Regions from separate parts of the Homo sapiens genome. Here region 2 is linked to region 1. The links are contacts of gene promoters, found by promoter capture Hi-C in human tissues and cell types (Jung and others, 2019). All regions are on one chromosome and are shown on one strand. The core of a region is centred on a gene start or on the middle of the fragment in contact, and the rest is flanking DNA. Distances in the headings are between cores, read along the strand shown.

The links. The method cuts DNA at HindIII sites, captures the fragments that hold promoters and counts their contacts. A contact is called where the count stands out against the background at its distance.
Region 2: a contact is called between a fragment that was not itself captured here and the fragment with the promoter of A4GNT in region 1, in 3 of the 25 tissues and cell types used here (adrenal gland, bladder and mesenchymal stem cells).

What each region holds. Positions count from the first base shown.
Region 1 is chr3:138,128,028-138,133,883 of GRCh38, forward strand. A4GNT (alpha-1,4-N-acetylglucosaminyltransferase) reads right to left here and starts at 4,363. Exons shown (of 3, transcript NM_016161.3): 1 at 4,185-4,363; 2 at 2,822-3,255. The coding sequence starts at 3,229. The HindIII fragment of the contact is 13,843 bases long and covers 1-5,856 here.
Region 2 is chr3:138,070,850-138,076,769 of GRCh38, forward strand. It overlaps DZIP1L (DAZ interacting zinc finger protein 1 like), which reads right to left. Exons shown (of 16, transcript NM_173543.3): 12 at 794-986. Among named protein-coding and RNA genes, the nearest start is that of DZIP1L, 42 kb to the right of the region's middle. RefSeq lists an enhancer at 1-379. The HindIII fragment of the contact is 3,794 bases long and covers 2,039-5,832 here.

The sequences.
Region 1 (5,856 bases), core at 3,113-5,612:
GCCAAGAGATTATTTGTCACACTGAAAGAGGGTTCCATGCTCAAATAAGTTTAGGAAGTGATGGGTTGAATCCAGTTAGATTTCTTCAGTTCAGAAAGATAAAGAGGCTTTAATATCCTCATGTGTGTGATTCATCTGTAAGAAAAGGATGTGGTATGCAGCTTCTCCCAAAATAATTTAATTACAGATTTTTTTCAAGGAGCAAAATACAATTTAGGCAGTGTGTTAGGCTGTTCTTGCATTCCTATAAGGAAATATCTGAGACTGGGTAATTTATAAAGAAAAGAGGTTTGATTGGCTCACGGTTCTGCAGGCTTTACAGCAAGCAAAGCAACAGCATTTGCTTGGCTTCTGAGGAGGCCTCAGGGAGCTTTTACTCACAGCTGAAGGTGAAGCAGGAGTAGGCGCATCACATGGCGAGAGCAGGAGCAAGAGAGAGAGTGGGGGTGGGGGGGTAGGTGCCACACACTTTTAAACAACCAGATCTCACGAGAACCCACTCACTATCCTGAGGACAGCACCAAGTCGTGAGTGATCCACCCCCATGACCCAATTACCTCCTACCAGGCCCCACCTCCAACAATGGAATTACAATTCCACATGAGATTTGGTGAGGATATATATTCAAACTATATCAGGTAGCGTTAGTCTAGCCCAGGCATCAGGAAACTTGTAGAGTCCCAGAGCACCCTCTAGCAAGTTAGCACTGAGAGCCACAAAGACCAAGCTGGGGTGTCCCCTCCACTCCCAGAAACTGCCTCCCTACCCCTCTGCCCGCCCTGCCACTGTGCAGGGCAGTGCCACCTGCTTGTTGGGAACTCTGCTGTTGGCAGCTGCCAACACAGTGAAAACTCAATCCATGAACTGCCCCACCTCCTCCTGATGGGTCCCAATTTGAGGACTTCAAGTTTCTTCAGAAGGAGAGATATGCACTTTGGGATGTAGAAGTCACTGGGGCCAAGAATAAACTGACCCCAGGAGCCATTCCCAGCCCCAGCCCCTACCTTTCTGGCCCACCAGATCCCTCCCCATCATGTCTGTCACTTAGTCCAAAAAATGTCTCCAGCTGACAGCAACTAGGTACAAGCATGCCCTCCACCCAGGACAGTCCACCCAGTTCCCAGGCAAATGAGGTGGGTCAGGGAGTAGGCTAAATAATGGCTACCCAAAGACCTCAGGTCCTAATTCCTGGAACCTGTTAATGTTACCTTATATGGGAAAAGTATCTTTGCAGGTGGTCATTAGGAACCTTAAGATGGGGAGAGTATCCTGGATGGGCCCTAAATGCAATCACAAGTGTCATTTAAATGGATAGACAGAGGGAGATTTTACACAAACAGAGGAAAAGAGATTTGAAGATGGAGACAGAGACTGGAGTGAGGGGCTATTGGCCAAGGAATGCCAGCAGCCACAGAAGCTTGTCAGAGGCAAGGGATCATCCTTCCCTAGGAACTCAGGAGGAAATGCAGCCCTGCCAGCAGTTTGATATTGGCCCAGTGAAAATAATCTGGGACTTCTGGCCTCCAGAACTGTGAGAGAATGAATTTCTGTTGTTTTATGCCACCAGGTTGGTGGTAATTTGTTACAACAGACGGAAGAAACTACCACAAGTACCTTCATAATATCCTCAATTTTACCACCTTAGCCCACAAGGCCGAAAATATTTACTATCTGGCCCTACACAGAAAAAAAAGTTTGGTAATATTTGCTACAGCCTATGATTAGAATTTAGACAGAACTTTATGTGGCAAGCAAATAGTATTATTTTTGCTTGTGTGTTTGTTTGAGACAGAGTCTCGCTATGTTGCCCAGGCTGGCCTTTGAACTCCTGGGCTCCAGCGATCCTCCTGCCTTGGTCTCTGGAGTAGCTGAGACTACAGGTGCATGCCAGCACACCCAGTGTGAATAGTATTATTTTTATGTCAATGTTTAGATTACTTTTTGTTTTCTAAAATAATGTTATTTATAAAATCAACACATTCTCATCACTAAATTCACTCCTAATCCAATTATACGAAAACACCTACTATTATTGTGTGTTGTAGAGTTCTTTCAGGTCTTTTTTTTTTTCAATAGATGTGTGTGGGTTTTTGCATAACTTAAATCGTTATAACTATTATAATTACATTATGACATAAGGTGGTTTTAATTCCATATTGTGTTATAGTCTTCATAGGATGTCAGTTTTAAAAAATTATAGTTAAAGCCTGCATAATGGAATCATTGAGTTGTTGTACTATAATTTCTTTAAGCAACCTGATTTCAGCTCCTCTATAAGAGAAATATTAGACTGGCACATTATTCCCTTATTCTGGTTCACTACAAACTTGGGGATTACAAAATTCCTCTAAGCTCCAGGAGTTTCTCAATCATATCTTAATACAACCCAATCTCATATCGCAGCATTTCATCCATCCTTCATGAATTTTCTACTTACATCATTTTCATGTTAAATATTGCCTGGTTTCCACTTTAGGTGAAAAAAAAAATAAAGTTTAACATAAGTGGATTTAAAACTGTAGTGAAAAATAAGTGTCCTATACACCTAGAAAAGATATAAAAACTCATTCAGTTAAGAATAGTCTCCAAAGTAACCAAGATCCTAAAAGAAATAAGGCTAGAAGCAAAAGACAGCAGAATAAAGATGCACCTAATGTAAGTCTTCCCTCTTTATTTGAATCAGTTCTCAACATGGTAAAAAGAGGGCCAAATGAGAGTCAACCCAAATGTGGGTTCTATTCCCATCTCCGACCTGAGTCCTTACCCTCAGTTTACCCATATATACAATTCGTTGACATTTTAAGTTTCCCTAAACACTTACTTGATTGTACCATGAAAACAATGGTGTGTCTTCAAGCAGCCTTTTCATATCCAAAGGGAAGAGGAAAACGTTGTCTATTGCTGACAGGAAGGAAAAAGCTGGGTATGTGGAGTTTGAGGGCATCGGTGTGGAATCAGTAAGACCCTTCATAAAGAACACCACAGGCCACTCAGGATAAATCTTGGCAGCAGACTCTACGGAACAGGAGACCAAATGGGGTGGCTCCATTCTCTCTGAGGTCTCTAGAAACACAATGCCACGTCTGTGGCTCAGGAGGGCTTCCAGCCCCTGGTGGGACTTGAAAGAAGGCAAACAGAAGAGGCAGCTGGACTTCAGGGTGAACTGGTAGAGGAAGCCACAGACAAGCAGCAAGGTGACTGACAGGGAGAGCTGGAGCTCCTTCCGCATGTCCTCTTCTCTGTGCCAGCCTGCTCCTTTAAATCAACACAATTAATTAAAAATCACAGCTGCAAAACCTGACAAAGATAGCACACAAGAAAATGATACATGAATATCATTTAAAAACTTAAATTTTAAATATCCTAAATAAAATATGATGAAATCAAGTCCAGCAATATTAAAAAAAAAATGCAGCCAGGCATGGTGGCATATGCCTGTAGTCCCAACTACTAGGGAGGCTGAGGCAGGAGGATCCCCTGAGTCCAAGAGTTCAAGACTAGCTTGGGCAGCATAGTGAAAATCATCACAAAAATTTAAAAAAAAAGAAAAAGAAAAAGACAAGAAATATGTGAGAAAGAAAAATGCATCATAACCAATCAGGATTTATCTTAGATTTTAAAATGATTTGACATTAAAAATAATTAGTTAATAGGGAAAACTATTGATAAAATGCATTATCTTAACAGTCTAAAGAAGAAAAGCCATATGATCATTTTGGCTCAAGAGATGCCAAGAATGTGACTAACTTTAAGATCCATTCACAATTTTTTTAAAGTACAAGGAAACTTTCTTAAGCTGATTTTAAACAATGTCTACCAGAACATATAGCAATTATCATACTTAATATGAAACATTTGAAACATCCCATTAAGATCAGGAATATGATATGAATGTCCATTGTCATTGTCACTGACATCATTGGTTACAATCTGATAATTGTAACCAATGCAATAAAACAAGAGAAATGAATTTCTACTACGAATATTAAAAGAGGCAAAAGTATCTCTAGGTTCAGAAAACATAACTGAAAAACTAATAGAACTAAGAAAAAAAATTAACAAAGGAAGCAAACTGAAGGCTAAAGAGTTAAATAAATTGCCAAGATCACACGATTAGCAAGTAGCAGAGCTGTGACTGTAACTTGCATCCACCTGCCACCAAAGTCCAGGCTCTGAACCGTTACCTGCAGTGCTTTCCTCACCAAAAATGTTAGCTCTAACCAAGGAGAACACAGATCTCACGTCTTGGCAGGTCTATCTTTCAAATTACATATAACCCTTTTAGAAAATACAAAACAGTGAATCAGAGCCTAACTTCTAGCTGCAAATGCAGTTAACCAGTATTTGAGGTCTTAGAAATGACAAGTTCTTCCTGCTACACTTTCTGATAAATCACCACCCAATCTTCCAACTCAACAACACAGGGGTAAGTAAATCATTGGCAGATTGAGACTAAACACAAAAAGTTCCCAGGAAGCTCCTCCCTTTACTAAGTTCTCCCAAACACAGCCACTTGGGAACAAGAGGGGTTTACCAGATTTTTAAGGTGACCCACACACTAATCCTGCCTGTTTGTGGATCTATTATGGGGGTTATAAAGGGATTATTTCACCTGGAGAAAACTGTATCCTGGCATAACCTTGGAGCCAACATATCCTGCACTTGATCAGTTTAGCTTGAATCAAAATTATGGACAGAGACCCTGTAAGGTGGTACAAACTCCCCTTTGCAAGCACAAAGTTTGATTAAAAGGAAAGAGAGCCCATCACCACAAATAAGCAATGAACAAAGCCCTGCAGTCCAAAGGCCCAGTGATCTAGAATGAGAAGTGATTCCCCAGTGTCAGTCACAGTGGCTGCAGGAAGGCTCCTTTTTCCCCAAGGTCCCCCTTATGGGGTATAAGCCTCGTCCCAGTCTCAGGAAGCCAGCTTTGTTGTCCTCCACTGATGTGGCAGTCCCCACATTTCCCAAGGTGTTAGCACTCACCTGTGGCCTATTCTCCACCGCCCCTGAAATGAGCTCTTAGCAATCTTCTTTGGAGCCATCCTCTGCTGAGAGTCACCTGTCTTGGCCATGAGCAGGTATTCACAGTTCCCCCTGGATGCTCTAGTGTGAGCAGGTAGGCCTGCTCCTGAGCAGACTTTAGATTCTAACATAGCAGGTCCTACATGAAGGGAGTTAAAGCTGCCCCACTCATTGATGGCTTCTGGTTTTCTATGTGTCCAAGGACCCCAGAAACAGCTTGTAGGTCTCCACAAACCTCTTCCTTTTGGAGCTGAATTTCTTCTCTGGACCTCATTAATTCTGGGCTCAGAGTGCCTTGGCATCTTTCCAAAGTTCTCTGTAATTGGACAGATTGGTTGTTCTTTCCTATGAAGGGGAGTGGAGATTAGTGCTCCTGCTCCTTGCCCAGGGGTAACTAGAGGACCCCATCTGTGGGAGTGATAACACATTCCTGGGCCTCAGGTGGGTCACATATCTTAGTGCCTCCCAACTGCTAGCCCAGTGGCTAAAACTATTGAACAAGTGGTCAAGGCAGAGATCAGTGATGTAGTTAATGGCCTTTGTCAGGTGAGGATGAATGTGAGCATCAGCAATGCAGTGAAATCCCAAGCACAAAAGTAGGACCTATCTGACCAAGAACCAAGTAGAAAGCATGATGGAAGTAGCACTGAGCTTGGAGTTATGCCTCCAGCCACCACAGGCTGAGGGCACTAGACAAGCCCCTAAACTGCCCAGAGCCTCAACTCCCTTGAAAAGTGCAGAAAATGACCGACCTCAGGCTCACTGTGAGAATGAAAGTTCTCTTTAAACCAAAGAAGTTATTGTCACTTTCTACCAAGGAAAATAGAAGAG
Region 2 (5,920 bases), core at 2,686-5,185, 58 kb before region 1:
AGCCCTCCCCAGAGCCTCTCACCACAGCAGCCCAGACCCTCTTGGAACCCTCTGGAAACAGGGGGCTCTCAAACCTGGGAACACAAATACACTTGCTCCGTAAGAACAGACTCAAGGGTCCTGGTCCACAGAATTTCGTGTTCCACCAGAACCACAGGGCCTTCTCTTGTCATGACCCCCAGAGCATGGACAAATGGTAAAGTGGCAGCTATGACCTGGCCCAAGGAACCAACTATGAGCTCTGAGAATTCATCTGCGTGCAGAACTGGCCCAGTCTCTCATGCTCTCCCATGGCCAGAGCAGGGGCTATCTGAGCTCTGCAGAAGTTTACATTCAATTGATATTTGCCTCCACCTGCAGCTTCAATGCTCCCGGGCCTCTGCCTGCCTCCCCAGGCTGGCATGCCTGGTGTGTAGAGCCAGAAACTGAATAGGCTGCTCTCTGTTGAAGAGACACTCAACTGTGGTCGCAACAAGCCAAACAGAATGAAGGTGCTAAGGGAGGCAGCATGTCTGCACAGGGACAGTTCAGGCTGACAACAGGCTCCAGCTCCGGCTCTCCTCCAACTTCCCCGAGTGACCCTGGACAAATGCCCCCACTCCACCCCAGATCCTATTTCCTCAACAGAGAACTTCTGGACTCAGTCCCCTGTAAGGACCCTACCAGCTCAGCCCTTCAGAGAAGTGCCCCTAATGGGGGACAGAGACTATACCCTCCTCATGTGCAAACAAGTTTTGGCAAGAATGGGACCCTTACAGGTCACAGCCCTGAGCAAGCCCTCTCCCCAGTGTACCTGAAGGCTGCCCGTCTGGCTGGGACACCACAGCGCCATTCTCCTGTCTCTCCTTCGCTCTGCTGGTGACTTCCTTGACAAGCTTTCCCCTCAGACTCAGAAATTCAGAAAACTTCCGGGCCTTCTGCTCCCGCTGGACTCTCAGCAGGGATTCCAGGTGTCTGAGAGTCTGAATCGAGATTCCCTTTGCATCCTAGAGGAGACAGGAGTTCACCTTTACAGAGAGAGGCTACCCTTCTTCTCCTTCCCCTAAGCCTCTCACACCTGCTGCTGCTGGCCTGGGAGTCTGTGATCAGTGCCTGGTGCTTTTCTTGCAGGACTGGGGGGCATGAAATGAGGATCAGAGAAGGGTAAGCAGCGGCTTCAAAGTTGCTGAAAGTGCAATGGTTCAGGGTTTGGGAGCCCCATCAAAATGTGCACAGCAGGATAATGCAAAGGACTGCGTCACAATTCTGACCACATCATAGCATAAGGGACTTCGTTGGAACATGCTTTTCTACCATCTGACTGAATCCTAGGATAAGAGACCACAGCTTGCTCATTTTTGTACTCCCAATTACTATTATTATGCCAAACACACTGTCCATGGCTAACAATGTTTAAAAAACTAAACTGCTGTAAACACAATCCAAGTACCCTTTCAAGACCTATTGGAAGTTGCTCGAGCTTTTGACATCCACCCAGAGCCCATGGGAGGGTCCAGGGAGGCATCTGAATCCAAGATGAGGATTCATGCAAGGTTAGAAAGGAATGTCTTAATCAAATCTGAATATAGGGCCAAAGTTAGAGTAGTCAGTAGTTGAAAACAATCAAAGTAGTGACCATTCTTCCTAAAATAACCCTAGTTGTCTATTTTTTTTTTCTAACTTACTCTACACAAACAGCATTCCAATAGTGTAATGCTTGGCTAATTTAATAATAGGTGTGTTTTTATTTAATAATAGATTTCATTGGTGCTTCTAATAATAACATACGTGTTCTGGTTAAGCACAATGGCATTCAAATACTAGTTGGAGAGAGAATCCATAGACCCTGTAAAGGAACTGGATCACTGCTGCAGACTCCCTGAGATGCCGAAAACCTGAGTCTGCTTGCTTTCTCAATGGGGAGGTTTGTGGTCTGGGGCAAGTTCCCAGCCCTGGTCACTGGCTGCTTGGAAATAGACTTGCTCCTGTTGGTGGGGCACAGTGCGAGTGAGACCGGACTTTAGGACCGCAGGCTGCGTGGAGATGGGCTGAGGCCTGTGACTGCCAGATTTCCCCCACTTCCCTGGCGACCTGTATGACTCAGCAGAGGCAGCCATAATCCCCCTGGGAATATAACTCCATTGGACTGGGAACACACCCTCATCCCCAACAGTAGCTGCAGCAAGCCACACCCAAGGAGAGGCTGAGCTCAGACACGTCTATCCCTGGCCCCACCTGGTGGTCTTCCTGCACCCGCCCTGGTAGCTGAAGACAAAGGTCATAATCCCTTAGGAGCTGTATGGCCCTGCCCACCGCCTGAGAAACCTGAATACTTAACCAGGTGTCCCTAGGGCAAGTAGGGAAGTATGCATCCTCCCTATAGGACCACAGTTTGAAAGCACCACCTCCTAGCTGGAGGCCAACAAACACAAAACCAATGCACTAAACAAACAAAAAGAAAAAACAAGGACCCTCAAGAGTCCACTTCACTCCCCTACTACCTCCACTGGAGCAGGTGCTGGAATAGTATCCACGGCTGCAAGACCTGAAGATGGATCACATCACAGGACTCTTTGCAGACACTCCCCAGTACCAGCCTGTAACTCTACTGGGTGGCTAGACCCAGAAGATCAAAAACAATCACTACAGTTCAGCTCTCAGGAAGCCCCATTCCTAGGGGAAGGGGGAGAGCACTACATCAAGGGAGCACCCCATGGGACAGAAGCATCTGAACAGCAGCTCTTGAATCCCAGATCTTCCCTCTAACATAGTCTACCCAAATGAGAAGGAGCCAGAAAAACAATTCTGGTAATATGACAAGACAAGGTTCTTTAACACCCACAAAAATCATACCAGCTCACCAGCAATGGATCCAAACCAAGACGAATCTCTGAATTGCCAGAAAAAGAATTCAGAAGGTCAATTATTAAGCTAATCAAGGAGGGACCAAAGAAAGGTGAAGCCCACCTTAAAGAAACAAAAAATGTTATACAAGAGATGAAAGGAAAATTTTTTAGTGAAATAGCATAAATAAAAAGTTATCACAACTTCTGGAAATCAAAAACACACTTAGAGAAATGCAAAATACACTGAAAAGTCTCAGCAATAGAATCAAACAAGCAGAAGAAAGAACTTCAGAGCTCAAAGACAAGGCTTTCGAATTAACACAATCCATAGAAGACAAAAAAGAATTTTAAAAAAATGAACAAAGTCTCCAAGAAGCTTGGGACCATGTTAAACATCCAAACCTAAGAATAATTGTTATTCCCAAGGAAGAAGAGAAATCTAAAAGCTTGAAAACATCTTCGAGGGAATAATTGAGGAAAACTTCCCCAGCCTTACTAGAGACCTAGGCATCCAAATACAAGAAGCTCAAAGAACACCTGAGAAATTCATTGCAAAAAGATCATCACCTAAGCACATAGTCAACCGGTTATCTAAAGTCAAGATGAAGGAAAGAATCATAAGAGCTGTGAGGCAAAAGCACCAGGTAACCTATAAAGGAACACCTCTCAGATTAACAGCAGATTTCTCAGCAGAAACCCTACAAGCTAGAAGGGATTGGGGTCCTATTCTTTAGCTTCCTTAAACAAAACAATTATCAGCCAAGAATTTTGTATCCAGTGAAACTAAGCTTCATAAATGAAAGAAAGATACAGTCTTTTCCAGACAAACAAATGCTGAGAGAATCCGCCACTACCAAGCCAGCACTACAAGAACTGCTAAAAGGATCTCTAAATCTTCTTTTTTAATTTATTTTTTTATTATACTTTAAGTTTTAGGGTACATGTGCACAACATGCAGGTTTGTTACACATGTATACAGAAACAAATCCATGAAATACAACAAAACAGAACCTCCTTAAAGCATAAATCTCATAGGACCTATACAACAATAATACACGAAAAAAAAAAAAGGCAAGGTATTCAGGCAACAAATAGCACAATGAATAGAATAGTACCTCACCTCTCAATACTAACATTGAATGTAAATGGCCTAAATATTCCACTTAAAAGATACAGAATGGCAGAATGGATATGAATTCACCAACCAAGTTTCTGCTGTCTTCAGAAGACTCACCTAAACTCACATTAGGACTCACACAAACTTAAGGTAAAGGGGCGGAAAAAAAACATTCCATGCAAATGGATACCAAAAGCGAGCAGGAGTAGCTATTCTTATAGCAGACAAAACAAACTTTAAAGCAACAGCAGTTAAAAAAGACAAACAGGGACATTACATAATGATAAAAGGACTAGTCTAACAGGAAAATATCATAATTCTAAATATATATGCACCTAACACTGGAGTTTCCAAATTTATAATACAATTGCTACTAGACCGAAGAAATGAGATAGACAGCAACACAATAATAGTGGGGGATTTCAAGACTGCACTGACAGTACTAGACAGGTCATCAAGACAGAAAGTCAACAAAGAAACAATAGACTTAAACTATAACCTAGAACAAATAGACTTAACAGATATTTACAGAACATTCTACCCAACAACTGCAGAATATATATTCTATTCATCAGCACATGGAACATTCTCCAAGATAGACCAGATGATAGGCCACAAAACAAGTCTCAGTAAACTTAAGAAAATCGAAATTATATCAAGCACTCTCTCAGATCACAGTGGAATAAAATTGGAAATCAACTCCAAAAGAAACCCTCAAAACCATGCAAATACATGGAAATTAAATAACCTGTTCCTGAATAATCGTTGGGTCAACAACGAAATCAAGATGGAAACTTAAAAGTTCTTTGACTGAACGATAATAGTGACACAACCTATCAAAACCTCTGGGATACAGCAAGAGCAGTGCTAAGAGGAAAGTTCATGGCATTAAATGCTTACATCAAAAAGTCTGCGGCCTGGCGCGGTGGCTCACGCCTGTAATCTCAGCACCTTGGGAGGCCGAGGTGGGTGGATCAGGAATTCGAGACCATCCTGGCAAACATGGTGAAACCCCGTCTCTACTGGGTGGGGTGGCACGTGCCTGTAATCCCAGCTACTCAGGAAGCTAAGGCAGGAAAATCCCTTGAACCAGGGAGTCGGAGGTTGCAGTGAGCCGAGATCGCACCACTGCACTCCAGCATGGTGACAGAGCGAGATTCGTCTCAAAAAAAAAGGCTGAAAGAGCACAAATAGATAATCTAAGGTCACACCTCATGGAACTGGAGAAACAAGAATAATCCAAACCCAAGGAGACAATGGATCAGGACGAGTGGCTGAGGAGTGGGCCCAGAAGCCTTGGGTAGCAGCACTGGAGGTCCTAAGGACTCCAGACTGTCCTTAAATGAGGAGGGAGCTTCCCAGAGTGGGGATGGTCAGCATCACTAATTACCAGGAAAATGCAAATCAAAACCACAATGTGATACCACCTCACCCCTACAAGAATGGCCATAATCAAAAAATCAAAAATTAATAGACGTTGACATGGATGTGGTGAAAAGGGAACACTTTTACACTGTTGGTGGGAATGTAAACTAGTACAACCACTATGGAAAAGTGTGGAGATTCCTTAAAGAGCTAAAAGGAGATCTACCATTTGATCCAGCAATCCCACTACTGCGTATCTACACTGAGGAAAAGAAGTCATTACATGAAAAAGATACTTACACATGCATGTTTATAGCAGCACAATTTGCAATTGCAAAAATGTGGAACCAGCCTAAATGCCCATCAATCAATGAGTGGATAAAGAAACTGATATATATACATACCATGGAATACTACTCAGCCCTAAAAAGGAACAAAATGATGGCATTTGCTGCAACCTGGATGGAATTGGAGACTATTATTCTAAGTGAACTCAGGAATGGAAAACCAAACATCGTATGTTCTCACTCCTATGTGGGAGCTAAGCTCTGAGGACACAAAGGCATAAGAATGGTACATTGGACTTTGGGGATTTGGGGGAAAGGGCATGGGG